2 separate regions of the Homo sapiens genome follow, and region 2 is linked to region 1. The links are contacts of gene promoters, found by promoter capture Hi-C in blood cells and fetal thymus (Javierre and others, 2016). All regions are on one chromosome and are shown on one strand. Each heading gives the region's core, a stretch centred on a gene start or on the middle of the fragment in contact. The rest is flanking DNA. Distances are from core to core; before and after follow the strand shown. Region 1 holds the start of DGUOK-AS1 (DGUOK antisense RNA 1). Region 2 has its middle 37 kb from the start of BOLA3.

Region 1 (5,630 bases), core at 402-2,901:
TCCAGGGAAAAGCTTTAAGAGCCAGTGCTAGATTTGCCCCATTCTTGTTTCCTGCCTTCAGGGTTGAGGAGATGCATGTCCAGTTGCAGCAGCCTGGATGCCCGAGTGATTACGGGAAACAGAGCTCCTAATGACTCATAATGGACACGTTTTGTGATTGAGAAATACACTTTTGTTATGTAAAGCCACTGTGATTTGGGGATTGTCTATTACTCCAGCACAATCTAACTGATCCTGACTGATACACCCTGTCAACCAAGGCTCAGGGGCACCAAGGCCTTTATCCCTGTTGGGTATTCCTTCCATTATGATGGGTACCCTTGCATTCTCCTTGCAAGTAATGAAGCCTATTTGATTCAAAAAATTCAAAATGCAGTCACAAAACTAGTTATAAAACATGAGGACATTTGCGGGGCTATTGAAAAACGTAGTAGCCGGGCGCGGTGGCTCACTCATGTAATCCCAGCAGTTTGGGAGGTCGAGGTGGGTGGATCATGAGGTCAGGAGTTCAAGACCAGTCTCTACTAAAACTACAAAAATTAGCTGGGCGCGGTGGCAGGTGCCTGTAATCCCAGCTACTCGAGAGTCTGAGGCAGGAGAATCATTTGAACCTGGGCAGCAGAGGTTACAGTGAGCCCAGATCGCGCCACTGCACTTCAGCCTGGGTGACAAGAGTGAGACTCCATCTCAAAGAAAAAAAAAAAACCAAAACCCAAAACCAAAACAAAACAAAAAACCCAAAAACGCATAGCATAGATATCCTACACGTGTCACACTCACCAATGCAGGTCCACAAGCAACCCACTAATGAACCTCCCTTTCCCTGAGAGCAAAATGCCAGCTTCTGCCTGGTATCAGCTCTAGCATTCGTGGGCTAATTTCAGAGGTCCTGGATTGTAGGTCCTGGATTCTGACATGTAGTAGTGAATGACCTTGGACAAATTACCTCACTGAGCGCCAGTTCTCTTATCTGTAAAATGGTGATGATAATAAAAACTATGTCATAGATAAGGAAAGTTAACATTTGCACATTTGTTGTATTTGCCACTCTGTGCAGACAGAAGGATAATGTGTGTGGAAGTGCTTTGAAAAGGGAAAGATCTATGCAAATATTAGTTGATAATATTTTTAGCCAATACATGACCAAAGAAGTAATACATCCAAAATCAAATAAACCTCCCAATACCTTCAGTCTTTAAAACCAAGCCCAGGTATGGATATCGGGATGTATTTACATTTCTGCAAAAGGTCCCCATACGCAAATCTCATTCTTAAATAAGGACAAATTACTCATTAGCTGAAGAGGAGAGAGGTCAAGTACCTGAGGAGGTTAGTCACATCAATCACCTGAGAGTTCAGCAGCATCCAACAGTGTTAGTTCCACGTGTTAACTTCCTGAAGAACCACAGGCTTGCACATCCAATTATGCTTCCTGTCCCTTTCCTCCCCCGTGCGGAATCAACTTCAGCTCATCAATGGGGTAGGAAAGCCTCCTTATTTCGCACCCTCCATGCTCCAGGCATCCAGGGAAATGCCCCTGCCACCCCTATCTCCCTTGAGTTCTTAGGGCTTCCTCCTCTAGCAAGGAGATTTCCCTTTCTAGTCCCGGGGGCAGCGGCACAGCCCGGCTCTGACCTCGCGGGAGCAGTCGCCTAAAAGAGGCTCCGCCCTTGGCCGCTTGGGGTGGCGCCCGCCAAACCCGCTCCTAAAAGGAGCCTCTCTCCCTCTGTCTGCTCTAAGCGCCTTGGGGGCCTAATCGCAGTCTCCACCTGGGTGCTGAACTTCCTTCTCCCCCGCTTGCTGTAGTCCAGTGCTGCTCTAACTTGACTTCACCTGACGGACTAATTAAAACAGATTGCTGGGCCCGCCCCCAGGGTTTCTGATTCAGTGGGGTTAGGATGGGGCCGAGAGCTTGCATTTCTAGCCAGTTCCCAGGAGATGGTGATGCTGCTGGTGCCGGGGCTCTCTTGGCGGAACCACTGCGTCTAGGCTAATGCAGCCCCAGGAAGGGCTCGCCCTATCCCTACGCCCACCCCCGCTGCTCTCCTGCCCTGAGCGCAATGTGAATGGGAATAGCCGCAGCAGCCCAGGAGGCTGGAGAACCAGAAGGCAGGACCTGAGGAGTTTAGGCTGTTTTATCTTGGGCGCCCCTGACCAGTTTGTGCAAGTCGTAAAGAAAGCAGGAAAGAAGCCTATGGGTCTTCAGTGTTACTGGGGTCTGTCATTCATTAGGGTCTACTCACCTCGTCTCTTCATTCAACACAGTGGTTGGTTGCTAGGTCTAGGGTTATGAGGTGAAAGACAGCGTGCTACCCTTCCAGGAGTTTGTAGTAACTGGGAAAGAAACATGCAAACCATTCCAGTGCCCAGCGCCGATGAGATAACTGTTCCTAGGCAGGGAGAGTCAAACTTCTGTGGAGGGAGAGTGGGTGGGGCTCTGGAATCATCTGAGCAGCTGGAGGTTTCATGGAACTGGCACTTATGACTTGCAGGATGAGTGGGAATTTGGCAGGTACAAGGGGTAGCTGAGAAGGGGTGGGGTGGGAAGGGTTTTTCCCCAGGCAGAAGGAATGAGCAACAGGACTGCCGAAGTGTAAGGTTCCAGAGGCCGGGAAGATATGACAGGCAGCTCTCTAGCCTGGCTGGGTTCCCTCCAACCTCTCTGGCGGCGCCTTCTCAGCTCCTGTCCCTCATGGGCTGGTATTCCCTGGGGCTCTGTCCTGGCAGCCTTTCCCTCTCACACTCCATATCCACCCTGGATGAGCTCCTCCACAACTGAGGCCTCGCTGTCTGCTCACTGATGGGGCCCAAATCTCAAACCCAGGCCTCACCCCCTCAGTTGCACACTCACTTTCACACGAATGTCTCCATCCCCAGGCATCCTTCCTTCTGCATTTTGTCACAGTGAATGGCACCAGCATTCACCCAGTTACCTAAACGAGAGGGCTTTATGAAATGACCCTCTCATAGATTGCTGGCAAAGAGTAAATGACACAGTAACTTGCTGGTGCCATTTACCCAGACAGAATACAAGAGGATGGCTGCTGGGCTCCTCTGAAAGTCCACAACTTACTAGCTGAGTGATCCTGGGCAAGTTATTTAATCTGTTTTCTTATCCATAAAATGGGTTTGATGATAGTACCTACCTCACAAGGTTGTCATATGGATTAAACAATATTAGTTGTTGTCATTCATTGAGCCCTATATTAAGTCTTTTACTTGGATTCCCTTGAAGATGGAGTACCTAGTCCAAGGTCACACTGTTACCAAGTGGCAGATTCAGGTTTGGAAGCCAGAGTTCTCTGGCTCCTGAGCCATCTTCTTCACCTCACTGTCACACTTTCTGAAAACTGTATACCAAACAGGGAAATGCCTATGGTACAATGTTAAGTTAAAAGAGGATGGCAAATTGTATAATCAGTGTGAGTAAATCCACAAATAGGAAAGGCTACAAGGAAATATAGCAAATGGTTAAATATGGTTGTAATTTGGTGATTTTTCCCCTCTAGTATCTGTAGTCTCCACGTCTTCTTTATACACATTTTTTATTAATAAAGTTGCTTATTAAAAATATATTACATTAAAAACAATTACGAGTCTGCAACCTGTTCCCCTGTTTGAAAATTGCACTCTCTTGGTTTTTCGTCTCGGTTCTAGTCTTACTACCCTGAACAGAAACTCTTCAGTCCTCCCAAAGGCCATGGTAGGAAGTGGATATTGCAGCCATGTTCACCCCCACCCACTCCCTCGCTGACAACCTGGACCCTGGAGCAGGCTGTCAAAATCAGAGGGAAGTTCCAGATAGAACCCGGGCTGCTTTACCGCCTAGGGCTTTCTGGACAGCGCTACTTCAGATCAGTTACTTTTTTTTCTTTCTTTCTAAATAGCCGGCCGAATGCTCTTTTTCCAGTTCTGGCTAAGCTGTTAGCTGCAGCCGGGCGGCGACGCCTGCCAGGTACCTGGCTCCGTGAGCACCGCCCAAACTGGTCAGGCCAGTCCGTCCTGTGGCTGTTTCTGCCAGGACTCGCCCGAGTGTGTGTGTGCGCGTGTATGTCAGAGACCCACCCTGCTCCCCTGCAACCGAGGTAGGTGGAAGGCAGTTGCAGGCACCAGCCTGGCAGTCAGGCCAGATGGGTGGGGCTGAATTAATCTAACCTGGAATTTCAACTTGGCCTGCACAACAGGTGAGGGAAAAAAGCAGCAGAGAGAACGGGCAGTTTGGCAACTTGGAAATATTCCTGAGCCCTGCCCCTTACCCCCTGCCTGGAACGTAGCCCAGGGTGACTCTTCAAAGTGTCTGCGCCGGGTTTTAGGGCTTAGTCGCCCCACGGCCCCCTCGAGGCTGTCCGAGGCCCTCCTGAACGCTGTCCTCCTCAGTTACCCTCCGCGACGCGCCCGTTCCCCCTCCTCTGGGAGGCAGGGCGGGGGTATCGGATTAGTCTTTGTTTTCGACGCGAAAGAATCGAGCGCGGCGCGGGGGAGGCTGGTGATGGCAGGGCCGTGGGGTCCACCTGGACAGGGCATTCGGCCGTGACCCCTGCGAGGGTGCCCTTAGCCTCTGCCCCCGAGCAACCCCTTCTTGCCGGCCAGGCTGACTCGGTACGCAAACGCGCGATGTCCCCCATTGTCCTGCCTCGGAATGAGCCAGCGGCAGCTGGGACAGGGGGGTCAGTCGGGCCCGGCGCTCAGGCCTCCCGGGGGCGCCGGGGCTGTCCCGGACAGATCTGGCCCGCAGGGAGTGGCAGGAAGTGGGGACACCGAGCGAGGCTCGGCCGAGGGCCTAGGCTGGAAGGTCCGCGTGCCCCACCCCGCCTCGCCGGCCCCGGCTGCAGCCCCGCCGGAGGGCGAGGGTGGCCAACCCGAAGGGGGCGGCCGCCTCCCGGGAGGGCCGACCGCGTGGGTGGGAGCCACTGCAGGTGCAGAGAAGCGGCGGCCGGGCCGGAGCCTGCCCCAAGCCGCTCGCAGGCCGCCCACCCGACCCCTCCCCTCCGCGGGAACCACCCCCCTCTCGCCCGGCCCGGGGCCCGGCCGGGCCGGCGGGGCTCGGCGGGGCCGCACGTGTGCGCCCTCCCGGGCGGGGGAGTCCCCGGGCGAGCACGTGCCGCGGTGCGCGGGGGGCGGGGAGTCCCGCGGACGCCTTCATTGCTGCTGCTGCTGCCGCCGCGGCCGCCGCTGCCTCTTCCTTCCTCCTGCGCCGTCCCCTCCTCGGCCCGGGCGGGGGGCTCCGCGCGCTGAGCTCGGTCGGGCCGGGCGCTCCGGGAGGCGGGAGCCCCAGGCGGCGGCGGCGGCGGCCGCGACGGTGGTGGCGGCGGCGGCGCGGGCCGGGAAACTTTGCCCCTTTGTGCGCTCCGCCCCGGAGGCGGCGGGCAGGTCGGTGCAGTCGGTGCCTTTCCGGCTCCGGAGTGGGGGAGGGGCGGCGGGAGGCGCGGGGGGCCCGGCCCGGGGGAGGGGGAGGGGACGGCCCGGATCCGGCGGGGGGCCGCTCCTCCGGTGCGGGGGGCCGGACTGGGGTGCTGCGGGGCGCTGTGCGGCTGAGCCGGGCGGGGGTGGCGGGGCGGGGGCGGGGGCTGCGAAGCCGCCGGAGCGGAGTGGCGGAGGCCCCAGAACAAAGGAGCCCGAGCGGCGGCGCG
Region 2 (5,594 bases), core at 1,853-4,352, 130 kb after region 1:
TTTTTTCTTTCCACTGGGAGATACCTCCCTCCTACTAAAATTAACTTCTGATGTTTGTTAGGTTTGCTAAAGGATCACCAAATGCTGCTTGGTTCGGATGGCTTGAACAGCAAGTCTAGTAGGGATTGGCTAATATACGGAACCCGAGATTCTGCTGACCAGCGGCAGAGGTTTCCCGCAAGATCCCATGCCTGGAGCTACCTTCTTTAATTCAAATTGCCAATTCTGGAGGTGGCTGTTCTTGAAAAGGGAATATGAATTGAGGAAGGAGGAGAGAGAATAGTGAATCTGCTTGCTCTTCCTCCTTCCTCCTGCATGAAACATCTGACTGAAATTGATCCAGTGTCTTTGAGGGACAACCAGCCCAGCTGTTGATAAGGACTTCAGCAATATCCCAACATCCCAAGTCACTCTAGGTGGGAAAGTTCATCTCTGAGGGCATCTGAGTGAAAATACCATGATCATAATGAGTGCCAGGTGATCGGCTTGGAGGTTTTTATCTCCATTTTACTTTGCTTGCAAAGGAACCCACTGGAAATGCCTTGGCACACCTGGCTATCCAGGGATCCTCAAACATGTTTATATGTTTTACAAAAGTGGGGTCACACTGTGTTTTGTAACCTGCTTTCCTCCTTGAGTTGGAAGAGACCTAGTTCTGTCCCCTTCCTGAGCGCCTGTCATGATGGATCCATCTGCAGAGCCTGAAGGGAGGGCCAGGACATTCCTCCTTCAGCTGGGGCTGGTTTCACTATTGGTTAGCTATAAATATGCTGCCATCTCTTCTTATACAAGTTCCATGTTAAATATAGAAAATTAGAAGACAGAAGTTCTTAAAAGTTATCTGAAATCCCACCACGAGAGAACCGCATATTGGTTGCAAACATTTTGAGTGTGTAAATACGACCCATATGTATTTTTTCAAATGGAATACAATAATACAATCTTGTAATCTTTTTGCACTTAAACTATCTTTATCAGTATGCAGAATAGCATCTTTTTAAATAGTTGCCTAGCAATGTTTTTAGTATGGATACAGAAGCATTTAATCATCCCTGTATCACCAAACTCTTTAACATCCCAAGTTGTTGCAATTATAAATTGAACTAATCTAAATGTGCCTCCATGTAAATCCCACTCAGTCTATTTCTTTCTACGCTGAGAAGCGTTGCAGTAAATTCCCCTCTGCCACGTGACTACATTCTTAATTCCATAAACCTTCTTGTAACAGGTCCAGGCCCTGTCCACCACTACTCCCCACCGTGCCCCCGTCTGTTCACACCTAGAGCATCATTATTCATATTGGGATCTCTAGAAATGAGCAATTTGTTCCAGATGGGATCCGGCTCATGCAAGCCAAGCACAAAGACACCAAGGAGCCCCACGATCTGGACACACTATTTTTATGAGTGTACACCAAGGTTTATTAGCTTTTTAAGCAGCGGCTTGTGGCTTGGAAAGAACATAGATCCCTCACTTCCCAATTGTGTGATTTGATGAGGGTTTCATCTCCCTGTGTCATTTTGTCAATAAGACAGGCTAATGATACCACATAAGATATAAGGATAAAAAAATTGCTACAGAAGTGAAAGTGCCAGGCATTCGGGACATAGCAAGTAATAAGAGCTATCATTATTACTCTTGACATATGCAAAGCTTTAGATCACTAAGGAATCCAAGACTAGTCTTGGGACCACATAGTGACCTCTTCAGTGAACTTTTGCCAAATCAGGTCCACTAACTCAAGTCTGCGTGCAATTTTTTTTTTTAATGCTTCACACAGCAGTTGAAATGTAGCCATCTTAAATGAACTGTTTAACCCACTCTCCCTGCCTATTTTGAATCTTAATTTTGTCAAATATTGGTTTACCCAACCCAGCTACACAACTTGGTCAGCAACTTTGTTGTGTGTTCTGATGCTCTTGTAAGCTTCTTAAGCTTGGAGAGCTGTTAGTCATCTTTGTCTCCCATTGTACTCTGAAAATAATGGGCATTCAACGTCCCATGTCCATGGGATGGTGCATCCATACATACATCATGTCCCTGCAAGGGGACATGAAGCCCTAAAAACATGTTCGACACACATAATCCAGTGTACATTCTTGTCAGAGCCATGAACACAACATAGAAGACGTGAAAGACAAAGCTTTGTTAAATTCTAGATACCCCCCAGCACCTCATCCCCACTCCAGAGGTCTTAGCAGAGGCCTGCTTTCCTCTACTGAGAAGCCCAACCCCAGGCCCAGGGAGCCTGCCCAATTTCCCTCACCACACTTCAAACCATCTTCCTGTATGTTTGTCCTCTTTACTGTACACACACCCCTGCTGCTCGGTACCCCTGACTCTCACTCTCCATGTGCACCCTGTGCTGCTCCTGTGGAACATGCTTCATCCATTAACCCTTTTCTGTGGCTTCTCCCCATCACGTGCTCTCAGGTTCACCCCAGCCTGACCCTGCTGTGCCTCATAGACCTTTCCCACTCCTTCCTATCACCACCACATATCTGCAGGTGTAGACAACCTCCTAGCTTGAAGGTCCATACCACTCACTCACCTGTACCTTTATTTCTCCAGAAATAGTCAGCTTCTGAGCCAGGGATCCTCATCCTCACTGACCTCTGTGAAGCCCTGGAAACCCTCTGCTCCCGGACTGCATAGCCAGGAACATTCCATTGTCCCAGGACCCTGCCCCCTTTCATGAGCCCCTTTGTGACCTCTTGTCCTTTAAACACAAATGCCCCCAAAAGAATCGACTCAGTCTTCTCCACAGACTATAAGCTTTCCTTCAAAGGACTTGTTCAGCCACCAGGCCTCAACTATGACCCTAATGCCAATGATTTCCAAAGCCATGTCTAGCCTCATGAGTTTGGGCTGCTGGATAGCTCTGGGTGGCTCTTTGGTAAGGTCAAAGTCTTAACCAAAACTGACCTCTCAACTCTCCACCAAATTTCCTATTCTCCCAGTCATATCCTGACACCTGCCAAGTCTAGATTCTACATCCTCAGCATTCTCAATCCTGCTTCTCTTTGCTACTTTTATTAGCAACCCACATTGTACAGTCATACAGGCTATGCACTGCACAACTCTGGGGAACACCATTCATACAGACTACCATGTGTAAGCCTTAATTACAGATATGGACTCCTCCCTGATATGGACAGAGGCATGTTGGACAAGGACCACAGTATAGCCCTCTAAAGCTGGGGACCCAGGGCAGAGGCCTCTCATATCTTGGTCTAAATGTGAGACCCTTCAGAAAGGTTGAATGGCTTGCTCAAGACCATCCAGCTAGGAAATGGCAGAGCCCAGAATCAACCCAGGTGTATTTGGTGCCAAAGTTTGTGCCCTATCCAAATATACCCCTGTTTCTTCTGTACCTTAAGACCCACAAACCCAAGGGACATTGTCCTCACTGGTGGGAATCTACCTACCTAAAGCTTAGGGCATGACCTGAGTCTGTGGGTCTATGGGCACAAGAGGCACAGGTTGCAACAAAGTGGCTCCACAGGAAGACTTTGGCTCTTCAGAGCATCTTCAACAGGTATTGTTATTTGAAAGACTTCAATTCTAGCCCCCATTTGATCTCCCTGCCCAGCTTACCAAAGCCAATCTCCTTACTCAGATAATCTTTCTAAAAACCAAATCAGATGATACTATTTCCCTGTAATACTCCTCGATACTCCCCATTTGATACAGCTCTCAGGATAAGACACATTTTAACTTTGCCGCAGGGCCCCACAGGACTTGGCCCCAGCTTGCATCTTTAGTAACACTGCAGGCCATTTGGTGTCTTTTATCTGATTATCTCCTTGGTGCACCTCCCCATGTGGCCTCTCAAATATGAAGGGTCTTCTGATGGTAATGCCAGTAATACCACCAAGAACCCACTCCTTTTATTTACTTATTTGCTTTTAAAGTATCTGTAAGAAACTAACTCCTTTTGAAATCCATTAAAACATTTACATAAACTATAAAACCGCTCCAAATAAAGAAAATTATCAATAAGAACCAAAACATCAGCAAAATTATACTCAAGGAAGTAAATAAACAGGAAACCAAGTTAACCAAGTTATCTAAAGCCAAATAAAAAGTTTTACTACATAAAAAACAATATGCAGATCTAAGGGTATAAAATTTTTTAAAATTATTTTAAAAAACAAATATTAAGAACTCAAAGACTAGTAATGAGTGCTTTGCAAGAAATACAAGAGATTAGACAGTGACTACAATCTACTTTCAAAAAGATTAAAAATACCCACAGCAGGCTGGGTGCAGTGGCTCACGCCTATAATTCCAGCACTTTGGGAGGCTGAGGTGGATGGATCATGAGGTCAGAAGTTCAAGACCAGCCTGGCCAACACGGTGAAAGCCCGTCTCTACCAAAAATACAAAAATTAGCTGGGCAAGGTGGTGCGTTCCTGTAATCCCAGCTACTCGAGAGGCTGAGGCAGGAGAACTGCTTGATATGGGACCCGAGAGGCAGAAGTTGCAGTGAGTGCAAATCTCACCACTGCACTCCAGCCTGGGCTACAGAGTGAGACTCCGTCTCAAAAAAAAAAAAAAAAAAAAAAAAAAAAACCCACAGTTAACATCTTACTGAATGGAGAAAAGCTGAAAGCTTTTCCTCTGAGAACTGGAACAAGACAAGAATGGCCAGGCGCAGTGGCTCACACCTATAATCCCAGCACTTTGGGAGGCCGAGGCAGGCAGATCACGAGGTAGTTCGAGACCAGCCTGGCCAACATGGTGAAACCCTGTCTCTACTAAAAATACAAAAAATTAGCCGGGCATGGTGGCACATGCCTCTAATCCCAGCTACTCGGGAGGCTGAGGCAGGAGAATCACTTGAACCCGGGACGTGGAGGTTGCAGTAAGCGGAGATCACGCCACTGTACTCCAGCCTGGGTGACAGTGTGAGACTCCGTCAAAAAAAAAGAATGTCCACTCTCATTACTCTTATTCAACGTAGTACTAGAAGTCCTACCCAGAGCAATTAGGCAAGAACTTGAAATAAAAGGCATCCAAATGGAAAAGGAGGAAGTCAAATTGTCCCTGTTTGTAGATGACAGGATCACATATATATAAAAACCTAAAGACTCTACCAAAGAACTCTTAAAACTGATAAATTCAGTAAAGTTGCAGGATAAAAAAAAAAATTACATACACAAATCAGCAGTTATTTCCATACATGTACAACAAACTTAGCTGAAAAAGAAATCAAGAAAGCAATCCCATTTACAGTAGCTACCAAAAAATAAAATAAAATACCTAAGAATAAATTTAACCAAGGAGGTGAAAGATGTCTACAAGGAAAACTACAAAACACTGATGAAAGATATTGAAGAGGATACAAACAAATGGAAAGACATCCCATGCTCGCAGATTTGGAAAAATTCATATTATTAACATAATAATACTACCCAAAGCAAGCTACATATTTAATGCAATCCCTATCAAAATACCAATGACATTCTTCACAGAAATAGAAAAAAAAATCCTAAAATTTGTATGAAACTACAAGAGACCTCAAATAGCCAAAGCAATCCTGAGCAAAAAGAACAAATCTGGAGGTATCACACTATCAGGCCTCAAAATAT

Evidence for each region. The method cuts DNA at HindIII sites, captures the fragments that hold promoters and counts their contacts. A CHiCAGO score of 5 or more calls a contact.
Region 2: a contact is called between a fragment that was not itself captured here and the fragment with the promoter of DGUOK-AS1 in region 1, in 1 of 17 cell types (erythroblasts). The highest score is 5.1, in erythroblasts.

The regions. Positions count from the first base shown.
Region 1 is chr2:73,979,788-73,985,417 of GRCh38, forward strand. It overlaps DGUOK-AS1 (DGUOK antisense RNA 1), which reads right to left and starts at 1,652. Exons shown (of 2, transcript NR_104030.1): 1 at 1,348-1,652. TET3 (tet methylcytosine dioxygenase 3) reads left to right here and starts at 5,123. Exons shown (of 12, transcript NM_001287491.2): 1 at 5,123-5,370. RefSeq lists an enhancer at 3,499-4,422 and silencers at 4,596-5,285, 5,044-5,242. The HindIII fragment of the contact is 8,489 bases long and covers 11-5,630 here.
Region 2 is chr2:74,108,461-74,114,054 of GRCh38, forward strand. It overlaps a transcript of TET3 not described here. Among named protein-coding and RNA genes, the nearest start is that of BOLA3, 37 kb to the right of the region's middle. The HindIII fragment of the contact is 659 bases long and covers 2,774-3,432 here.